Linked DNA regions of Homo sapiens: all the other regions are linked to region 2. Evidence: promoter capture Hi-C in human tissues and cell types (Jung and others, 2019). All regions are on one chromosome and are shown on one strand. Each heading gives the region's core, a stretch centred on a gene start or on the middle of the fragment in contact. The rest is flanking DNA. Distances are from core to core; before and after follow the strand shown.

Region 1 (2,700 bases), core at 200-2,699, 110 kb after region 2:
TACGTTTCATACTGTGATAATGAGTCTTTTAAATTGCTATTTGTAATAAATTTTGGGTAAGATTATTCACTTTTCTTTGTATTTTTTATTTTATGCTCTGAGTGCGGGAACCTACAGAGAGCTACAAATTGAAAGAAACAAACATTTCAGAGAAAACAGACCTCCAGAGCTTTAGAAAGAGCAAGGAATTGACAATTTGAAGGGCTTCAAGTATGCCAAGTAGCCATCATAACTCACTCCACATTTCGAAAGGGAAAAAGCAAATCAAGATTTGAAAACTTTATAGTCTTTTGTTTAGTGAGAATGTGTTCATTGTGTGTTGGCTATAATTATTGTTAACATTCATTTTAAGAGCAACTTACTGATCTCTCACTGAAATTCCTCATTTATAATGAGAAAAAATATTTCAACTCAGCTTAATAAATGAGGATTGGCAGAATTAAGTGAGCTATCCAATATCTTAAGCTTGTCAGTGGCAGAGCTGGGATGGGAGCACTATTGTGCCTCAACACTTCTACCAAGACTTTTTGCACTATGCTCTACACTCTTGAAGGACATACGTTAAGAATAAATAACTATTGATGTTCGAAAGCAAAATTATGCCGTCATTCTTAGGGACAGTTTATTTGAGAGTCTGGTTTTATATAGAATCTGGGAATGTCAAAATTGAAAGGATGCTTAGAGGTCACATATTCATAGCTCTCAATTTCCTGAATTAGAAAACAATGTCTGGAGTGGAGAAAGCATTCAAATGCCACAGGGATTCTCTTTTTTCATCTCAAAATTACATGATTATTATTGTACTTTTTAAATTGAGAAGAAAGTTACTACACATCATGAGCAGAAATGAAATTTATAAGATGAACAACCAGAGATTCTACCAGTTCATGAATAAGGTGTGAGCCATCTGATCCAAGAGTTCTTTCTCTCTTCTTAGTTTAGTGTACTTTTAGCACAAAAGCATTGGTTCTGCTTGTTGCTTTTTTAATACTAGATTTTACCTACAATCTCATTATTGTATTTTTTAAGTGTAGTGCAGCTCTAACTTATTTAATTTTCTTTAAGCAAATAAACATAGTTTAAGATGGCTTACAGACATTCATATATCTTACAAAGATATCCTAAATGATCTAGAGTGGTAAGAAATACAAGGCAAAAGGAAAATCAAAGTTTATTTTTTGTAAAATCATTCTTCTGAGTGTTGTACTTTGTTACTTTTCTTTGCCTTTTATAATGCATTTACACTTCTTATATAAGCTATTGGATGTATATTTTAAGCTACTGTATAATCATTCAACTTTTCAATCATAATTTTCTGAAATTTCACCGTTTTAAACAAAAAGATGATTCATGCTATTATTTATAAATTTTACTGTATTTCATCTTTAAAAAAAATAACACACAATGGTAATAATACCATTCTTGAAGCAAATGATTGAATGTGCTAATAATAGTAATAGTAAAAAGAATAGATTTCATAGACTCAATTTTCTAGAACTAGTGATGAAGATTATTAATCATGATTAAGCAATGAATACTCACAATAATGCATAATTTAGAGTCCTGGTCTTTGCGATTTTAAGTTGCTCAAAAGTGCTCAAGAACATAGGTAAAATTCCTGGAAACAGAATTCCTGGAAATAAAAATAATATCCATCCAGCCATCCTTTTTTCCTGAAAATGAAATTTTTCATAAAACATATAAACTAGATGTTGTCTTTTTGTAAATATTTTAGCAACATGTATGTATGTTAGATTGGAAAATAGAGTTCCATTTGCTGAGTGAAGACCTCGGAAAGAAAAGGAAAGTATGATCAGTGGATATTTAGTGACCTAAAGAAAAGAGTGATCAATTGCTTCAGGAAAATAAAGAATACTCTCATATTTTCTCCATGTTCTTTTCATGGTAGCTTGGTGTAGTATCAATAGTATAGATTTGGCATCAGGCAGAACTGAGTATGCTAAGTGACACACTAGCATTCTTCCTGTTCCAGGAACATGCCAAGCTTGTCCCTGCCTCTGGGTCTTGCGCTTGGCAGTGGCTCTATTTTGAATGTGATTCCCTGTGACCTTTTCAAGCTTGACTCATTACTATGAAAAGTTCTGCTTAAATATTCTCCCTTTGTAGAGCTCTTACTGAACGAACCTCTCTGAGGTAGACTTCTATGATGGTTGATATTAAGTGTCAACTTGATTGGATTGAAGGAGGCAAAGTATTGTTTCTGGGTGTGTCTGTGAGGGTGTTGCCAGAGGAGATTAACATTTGAGTCAGTGGACTGGGAGAGGAAGACCCACCCTCAATGAGGGTGGACTCAGTCCAATTGGCTGCCAGCATGGCTTCAAAACCTGGCAGAAGAAGGTGGAATAAGCTGGCTTGCTGTGTCTTCCGGTTTTCATCTTTCTCCGTGCTGGATACTTCCTGCCCTTGAATATCGGACTCCAGGTTCTTTGGCCTTTGGACTCTTGGACTCAAACCAGTGGTTTGCCAGGGGCGCTAGGGCCTTTGGCCACAGGCTGAAGGCTGCACTGTTGGCTTCCCTACTTTTGAGGCATTGGGAGTTGGACTGAGCCACTGTTGGCTGTCTTGCCTTCAGCTTGCAGGGATCACCATGTGATTGTGTGAGACAATTCAACTTAACAAACTCCTTTTCAGGTATACATATATCTCATTAGGTCTGTCCCTCTGGAGAGCCCTGACTAA
Region 2 (2,700 bases), core at 182-2,681:
CTTTGAGGATTCTGCCAGACTGGGTGGGGGAAGGCTCTGGTGTTTGGGAGGAATAAGCGGAGGAAATTGTGGATACCTGTTGGCATCAGCGTTGGCGGCAGCACGTTTTTTTACCGTTTCCCAGCCTTGGCTGGATCCTGGGAGAACCGGAGTAGGTCCCTTATGAACCTCTTACGTACTGGCAGAACCTAGGCAAGAGCCTTTTTCCCTCCGATCCTGCGAGGGGCGCGACCAGCCCCTCAAAGGTTCCCGGATGAGAAGCGGCCAGACCACAGAAAGCGCAGGTCTGGGCTCAGCTGTCCCTAGGAGAGCGGCTACGGAGTCCCCGGCTTAAGGGGGCCTCCGTGCACGCAATCTCGAGTTGCGGGGAGACACTGCCTGGGGGTCCTGCAGGGGTGCTGGGCAGCGTCTTGGCGAGGGCAGAGCCGCAGGGCGACTCCGGAGCCCGGCAAGTTTGTAGCGGGCACCGCACCTCCCAGAGCTGGAGCTGCCACTTGTGGGAAAGCCTCGCGCTGGGGCTTTCGCAGCTGAGCCTTGGCCCGCAGCCCTGCCGCGGGGGTCGCCCTCCCTCGCCTCGGAGATGAGGCGGTGCAGAAAACCAGCCATAGACCACTCGGGCCCCCTCGCCTCCTTTTTTCCCTGGCTTGCACCCTCCGCACAGCGGGCTGCAGGTGCTTCCCATTCACCGCACGGACCCCGCAGTGAAGGCGCGCGGCTGCAGCCGCGCCTGCCTGCGTTGGGAAGCGGCGAAATAGCCAAGTCGCCGCAGGGAAGGAAACCGGCAGGAAAACTGGAGGGGCACAGCCTGGAGCTTGCTACTCTCTAGGATCTGTTGTCAAAGCAGTTTGCAAAAACAGTCAGGCAAAACCTTGAGGCGTACGTACGTTATCACCCACGGATATCGCGAAAGACACAGCTTAGCCCAGAGCCTATGCTAAGAACCCTCATCCACCATCTGAGGGGCAGGAGGCGCGCAAGGTGTCCGAAGGGGCATGGGAATTCCTATAAGAAACGGTCCCTTCTGGATAGTCGGAACATAGAGGAAAACGGGGGTGGGTTAGGGGAACACTTACTCTTGTGGGGCCCTGCGCTGGCGAATGTCAAGCCTCCAGGTTCACAAATGGCTGGAGGTGCTCGGGGTTAGCTCCCGAGGGCGGCAAGCGCCGACCGGTCCTCGCTCGCTAGGCAGGCGCCTCCGGATTCCGTTCATGCCTCTCGGAGCTACAGGGCTTGGTGCGGAGACGCAGGGCGGGCGCGCTGGGCTCTGGGTGTCCGCAACCCAAAGTGCAGCTGGTGTCTTGACGCTACCGTCTATGCACAAGCCGGCGGCGGCGGCGGAGCTTGGAGGAGGCAGGGAGATTCCAAATAAATCCACTAATTCTGGGCTGAGCGCTCCGGCGTGCGAGCCCGCCTGCCTGCCAAATGTAACTGTGAAGTGATGTGGAAAAGTGAGCCGGGTGCCTCCCCTGACGGATCTCATTGGGCAGAGCGCAGAGGCAGGTCTACCACTTGGAAATTCATGTAAGCAGTCCCCCCTCCCCGCCCCCTCCCCGCCTTCCCCCTTCGCTCTCCCGCGCTGGCTCGATCGCTCTCTTTCCCCCTACCCAAGTGGGCGCACAACTTTTCGCTCCTCGCTCCCGAGCAAGCCCCGCGCGTCTCTGCCGCCAGAGCCACGAGGTGAAGATGCGCCCTTCCGCGCGGTGCGCGCAGCCCGCTGAGGACCGAGCTCCTGGATAAGTGGGCTGGCAGATAATAACAGCATGCGGATGAGGTACCTGCGAGCTTTCTCTCTAGAGGTCTCACCTGAGCTCTGGGGCTGGCGTTATGTTGAAAAGCGTCTCAGTGACCCGCAGCTATTTTCCGTAGGAGGAAGAGGACGCGACAGGGCAAAGGGTTGAGCGTGGGCAGCTTACCTCCTCTTTATTCCAAGGGCCTCTTGCGTACAGAATAGGGTGATTGTGAGACCCCTGCCTGCAACTCAGACGCTATGTAGAGGCTGTGTGTCGCGGTTCTGTGATGGAGCGCATTCCTGATGTCCCCGTGCTCCTTTGGGAAAATGGGATGAGGGACAGCAGAGTGGCAGCCAGGAGGGGCGCGCAGTAGTTGGTTGTGGGGAGGAGGGCAGGCAAAGCAGAACTTGCTTGGGAAATAGGGGAGGAATTTCTAGGTCTTCTCAATGTGCCCTGATCTTGTCATATCCTCTCAGATACCATCCTTGCGGTTCTCCTGCCTCCACCAAGACCTGCCCTGTCTGTGGTCACTTCAAGTCTTCTGATGGGCTGCGCTCAGATCTTGAGAAATGGCCACCCTGGGGTAAAAGGGACCATGAATCAGGAGGTCCAGATTTCTTTTCTTTTTCAACACTGGGGCTAACATGTAGACGATGCCACAGTCATCATCTTCTAATAAAATTAGATAAATATAAGACAAATAAATTCTTACCTTAAAAAAAAAAACCCTCCCCTCCACAGGAGATCCCGATTTAGTCCCTTCCCTGTGTGCACTAGACGTGAGCCTGAGGGTGGATTTTACCATCTGGGGACAGAGCAAGAACAGAAGGGGGAAAAAGGTGCAGGGGACAAGACGCACAGTCTGTAGAGCTTGTACTGTCTCACTCAAATTAATGAGAAAGAGTGAACAGAATGAGAAAATAGGCACAACATGCTTATGATATTTATGCAAATTTGACATTTTTTTGTG
Region 3 (2,700 bases), core at 33-2,532, 68 kb before region 2:
GGTCTCAGCTACTCAGGAGGCTGGGACGGGAAGATCCCTTGAGCCCAGGAGTCCGAGGCTGCAGTAAGATATGGCTGTGCCACTGCACTCCAGATAGGGGAATAGAGTAAGATCCTGTCCCTAAAAAATAAAGAGAAGAGGAATGGCCATCTTAGAAGAGATAAAATACTAGTTAAGTCATACAGTTTGTAAAAGGTAGACATGCCAACATATCCCATGTATGGATGATTGCAAATAGTGTGTAGGTTTTATTTCTCTCTTTCCAGTACCACCACATTTCCTCCCAATGTGTTAATGCCGATAATTAGTAACCAAGTGAAAAATCTCATGCTGGGATTAAAATATTCTTATTGCAGGTTGAGTGTCCCTTATCTGAAATGCTTAGCACCAGGAGGATTTGGGATTTCTTTATAAATAATTTGGAATATTTGCATATACATACAGAGCTATCTTGGGGATGGAAACAAAGTCTAAACAGGAAATTCATTTATGTTTCATGTACATCATATACATGTAGCCAGAAGACAATTTTATACAAGATTTTAAATAATTTTTGATGAAACAGAGTTGTGACTGTGACTGAGGTCAGGGGTGGAATTTTCCACTTATGGCATTATGTCCTCTCTCAAAGTTTCAGATTTTGAAGGCTTTTGGATTTGGGATTTTCAGATTAGGGATGCTCAATCTGTACTTATACGACAGTTGAATTTAAATTGAGATTATTTATTTATTTATTTATTTCGTTTGAGACGGAGTTTCGCTCTTGTTACCCAGGCTGGAGTGCAATGGCATGATCTTGGCTCATAGCAACCTCCGCCTCCTGGGTTCAAGCAATTCTCCTGCCTCGGCCTCCCTAGTAGCTGGGATTACAGGCGCCCGCCACCACGCCCAGCTAATTTTTTGTATTTTTAGTGGAGACAGGGTTTCACCCTGTTGGCCAGGCTGGTCTCGAACTCCTGACCTTGGGCGATCCACCCGCTTTGGCCTCCCAAAGAGCTGGGATTACATAAGCAACCGGGCTGGGCCTAGAGATCATTATTTTAAGAACAATGGTTCTTTAACTGGAATCAGGGTTACCTGGAGGGTAGTTTTATGCAAATTCCTGTGATCCACTTCCAAAAAATTACAAATGAATAGAAATTTATGCACATGACTCAAAAACTACTCTGTGAGAAAGAATGAAACAGGTTAAGTATCTGAAGGTTTTTCCTCCTCCTTTCATTCACCCTCGTCTATTGAGTGATGTGTCAAGTTTTTCCCACTCTTTCACTGCAATCTTACAGCTTAGGTAATTATGCCCATTCTAAAGGTGATAAAGGTTCTCTCAAAAGCTGTGAGACCTAGGACAGGTAAAGGGCACAATGGTGAGTCAAATCCAGTGTTACCTGGCTGCAATCACAATCCTCTCCATCTCCAAGTCTTTATCCTCCCTTCCCTTGTAAGCAGAGTATAAAATAACACTATCAAATAAGCAGAATCGATGAAAGAAAAGCCTAGCTTTTAGTATAAAAACTACCATTTAACATTATCTGAATAGACTTTCTGCAGCTTAATTTAATAAATGAGGCATCGTTTTTTAGACTCCAAGCATAATAAACTCTCATTTGCATTGACTGGATTCATAAATTCATGCTGTTAAAAACCTGTTTCTGTCAGGGTTGGCCCAGGCCCCCACAGCTTTCACTCACATTCCAATTCTAAGCGGCAGGAGGGAGTTTGCCGATCACAAGCATCAGCTATCATTAGTTCATTTCCTTTAGTGCTGCTTGAGAAAGCGGCGTGAAGCCTGACAAGGTGCAGGCAGCTCATCTAAAACAAGTTCTCCACTGCTCCCAGAAAGGGTGAGGACATCTCCCAATTTCCCTTTACTGCATATGGATTATTTTTTCTTGGCAAAAGACCATAGCAGAATGCTCAGAGTCCAAGATTCTTGAGATGCACAGATCTAGGGTTTGGATTTACACAAAAAGGAACTGAAATAAAACCTTCTCAGTCAGAGCTTCATGTTTAAGGAGAAACAGAAATAAAAGCGATGGTGTTGGTATGTGTTAAAAAGCCCTATCTCTTTCCCCTTATATGGGCAATAATGATCTGAATGACTCAAAACAAATAGAACTCCCGGTTCTCAGAGTAAGTGCTGTGGAGTGAGGATGGGCATCTGACAGTGAGAATTCTCAGAACTTCGGGAACATAACCAGAAACAAGCACAGAAAACCACTTCAGAAAGCTAACTCCAATGGCAGACCCATCATTGAACGGATTCAGTGTAGATTGAATCTTCCCTTTCTGAATCTTTCTTGGCACGTAGCTGGTTTCTTGAATAGTGCTTACATTTTATTTTGAAATCCATGACAGAATATCCAGAGTGCAGAGAAGCCCTACATGGGCTTATCTATGGAATGTATTAAATAACTTCCGATGCCTCTCCCAGCTCTAACAGACTATTTCGGTCAGTATCAGACAATCATCCAAATATGATCATTTATCTATATAAAGAGATATTAGATATTATATTATTTGCCAATGCATTTCATTCATCAATTTAACAAAGATTTACTGACCATCTGATAGATTCACTGTGTACTGGACAACCGGTGGAATAAGATGTGTATAGTCTCATTCCTGATCCCCTTACTAAATATTGCATTCCCCTTAAGTGTAGTGGCATGAAAATAAATCCAGTGTATGGAAGTAGTTCCC
Region 4 (2,700 bases), core at 95-2,594, 110 kb before region 2:
AATATTTTAGATATGAGGAAATAAACTCTTCCCTCTTTGAACTGTTGTGAATAATAAGTGAAATACTATATGTCACATATACAACATAAAGCTGGCATATTCAAGTTCCCTGACCAGAATATTGTCAGGTGAATATTGTCTCAGGTTATTATGAAGCCCTGGCAATCTAGATGGCTAGAGGATATATATATATATACATCACATGTATATATATTTAAATATATATAAATATATGTGATGTATATATGTGATAAATATATAATATTTAAATATATATTATATATGTGATGTATATATTTGTGTATATATTTAAATATATTATATATTTACTATATATATTTAAATATATACACATATATATCTCTTTAGAACAGGGTAAACTTCTGCAAGCATCAGAATCATGGGTATCAGAATCATAAGTAAAAACACAGATTACTGGGCCCTCTCTAGCAATTTTGGGATGGGACCAAAAAAAAACTTGGATTTCTAAGAAGTTCCTGGGTGATGCTAATATTGTTGATCCAGGCACCACACTATGAGGACCGCTGACTTCGAGATCAAAAAGTTATTCCTTTCTGTGGTTGTTGTTGTGTTGTTGTCGTTTTAATCCTGATACTCTAAGTGGGATGGTATTATTTGGCAATGCCACTTTTAATAAGTGGTTCGAAATGTTTCCATTAGGGAATAATCAATTTTAGGTTCCAAACATTTTTTGGGACTTTTGAACATTCACTTCTGAATACTAAAACACTTGATTATGTTGAAATATACACAACCCTTTAACAATTATTTATAATACTTCTACTGTGTGCACAGCCTATAGGTTCTCACGCATCATCTTGTTAGAGGCCATAGCAGATTCCCATTCTTCTTACAGAGTTAAATATCAGGCCAAAGTTACCTGCTCACCCAGATACACAGGTACATGGGATATTTAATAACAAAATTCCTTCCCCACCTCTGACCTCTACATTCACTACTGAAAGTTGTTGAAAATAATAAGCTTGCTAGACTTCATCAGTGTGTTCTCGTGTGAAGGTTAAAGAGCATCATACTCAAAAATTGCAGTCATGAATATACAGGATCTTGGTGATTGATGGAACAATATAATCAGAAGAAATGAATATTAGTTTCTGTTTTTTTTTTTAAAAGAAACACTTAAACTAAAAACCTTCTTATCCACGTAGTCATCTTTAGTTACTGCAATTCTAAAATTCAACCTTCTATTTTTGGCCTCTCCTCCTGTTTGGGCAGAATAAATCAATAAATAAAAACGGTTTAAATAAAGAGCTGTTAATTGTCCTGAGGAGGATTATTTGTAAGACACTCTTAATGTAGGATTTCCATAGAGTTGCTAATTGTTCCGTACTTTGAAATTCGTCGTTCTGAGAATGAGATGCAGTTGGTAATGTAAATATCAACCAGGTAGAGGGTGTTACTCTGTATTAGCATCCAGATTATTATTCAGTCATAATTAATACGCTCCTAAAATAAAGTGTTGACAGCACTCCTATTCAATCATATAGCATATGTTTATAGTCTCACACATTGAGGTACACACATAATTACAATATATGTGTGAGAAAAATTGCTGAGGCAGTCCAAGAAGCTGTGCTTACACTAATTGAAAACTGCCATTGTCCAATTAAAGCAGGTGAGACCACAGGGTGGCAACACTGTCAAAAGCCAATCAGACATGGCCACGCTGGTTAAATTACAAGACAAAATAAAATAAGAAGAGCAAACAAGATTTTGTTTTTCTTGTTGTGGTTGTTTTAATAGAACACTGAGAAGCTAATGGCAATCAAGATACTCATTGTTTCTCCTTACCCCAGTTAAGAATTAATCTCAATAAAATACTATATTATTACAGAAAATATTGAGTAGCTCAAAAGCACAAGGCTCACCTTTCACCAAAATTGATGCTATCAGAAGGAGGAGAAACATTATTTTTACTGTTAGAGATGTGACTTTGATGACTTTAGAGAAGCTAAAGGAGTGTGCTATTACAATTTGTTTTATTTCTATTTTTCTCCATTAGGCCTCATTAGGAAATAATTAATGCATCATGTGTAATTACAGAAGAATCACTCCACACTCATTTCAAAGCATCAAGCAACATGAATTTCAAGGGGAGTTTAAAGTAGGGTCACTCATCTGCAAGAGCACAATATACTACTCCTTTGAGGAAATGTATGTCATAAAATGTTAAATTCAAGACTCATAGTAAATATCCACTTACTCCATAAATGTTTTGACTTCTGAAGTATTTTTTTAGCAGGACACAACAAAGCAAAACAGAGTCTCTAACATTATTATTTCAAAGGTGACTCCAACCAGGATCAGGTCAGAAAGTAGCAGAGAAAAGAGGAAAAGATGGAGAAAGAAGAAAGCAATAAACGTATATTGAGAATCTACTATATACCATATACTGTTCAAATTGCTTTACATACATTACTTCATCCTTACTATACCTTCACAAGGTTGTTTCTTTTTTCTCATTTGATCAATGAGAAATCTGAGATTCAGAGTAGATAAGTAACCTGCTCCAAGCCACACAAACTAATAAGAAGCAGAATCATAAAATGTTGATTTGGGACTCAGAAGGGGTGTGTGTGTGTGTGTGTGTGTGTGTGTGTGTGTGTGTGTATACATTTACCTTACAAGTGGGAAAATAAAATCTATGTTCCAAATATGGGA

Evidence for each region. Contacts are between HindIII fragments. The study calls those that stand out against the background at their distance.
Region 1: a fragment that was not itself captured here is called in contact with the fragment with the promoter of CDH8 in region 2 in 2 of the 25 tissues and cell types used here (bladder and spleen).
Region 3: a contact is called between a fragment that was not itself captured here and the fragment with the promoter of CDH8 in region 2, in 3 of the 25 tissues and cell types used here (dorsolateral prefrontal cortex, spleen and stomach).
Region 4: a fragment that was not itself captured here is called in contact with the fragment with the promoter of CDH8 in region 2 in 3 of the 25 tissues and cell types used here (dorsolateral prefrontal cortex, hippocampus and mesendoderm cells).

Annotation. Positions count from the first base shown.
Region 1 is chr16:62,142,936-62,145,635 of GRCh38, forward strand. No RefSeq gene overlaps it. Among named protein-coding and RNA genes, the nearest start is that of CDH8, 110 kb to the left of the region's middle. The HindIII fragment of the contact is 3,741 bases long and covers 1-2,700 here.
Region 2 is chr16:62,035,007-62,037,706 of GRCh38, forward strand. It overlaps CDH8 (cadherin 8), which reads right to left and starts at 1,432. Exons shown (of 12, transcript NM_001796.5): 1 at 1,074-1,432. It overlaps LOC124903777 (a long non-coding RNA gene), which reads left to right and starts at 1,584. Exons shown (of 2, transcript XR_007065217.1): 1 at 1,584-1,771; 2 at 2,207-2,427. The HindIII fragment of the contact is 11,196 bases long and covers 1-2,700 here.
Region 3 is chr16:61,967,080-61,969,779 of GRCh38, forward strand. All of the region lies in intron 2 of CDH8 (cadherin 8), which reads right to left. Among named protein-coding and RNA genes, the nearest start is that of CDH8-AS1, 50 kb to the left of the region's middle. RefSeq lists an enhancer at 1,427-1,944. The HindIII fragment of the contact is 7,820 bases long and covers 1-2,700 here.
Region 4 is chr16:61,923,544-61,926,243 of GRCh38, forward strand. The region is part of intron 2 of CDH8 (cadherin 8); the gene reads right to left. All of the region lies in intron 1 of CDH8-AS1 (CDH8 antisense RNA 1), which reads left to right. Among named protein-coding and RNA genes, the nearest start is that of CDH8-AS1, 6.6 kb to the left of the region's middle. The HindIII fragment of the contact is 3,202 bases long and covers 1-2,700 here.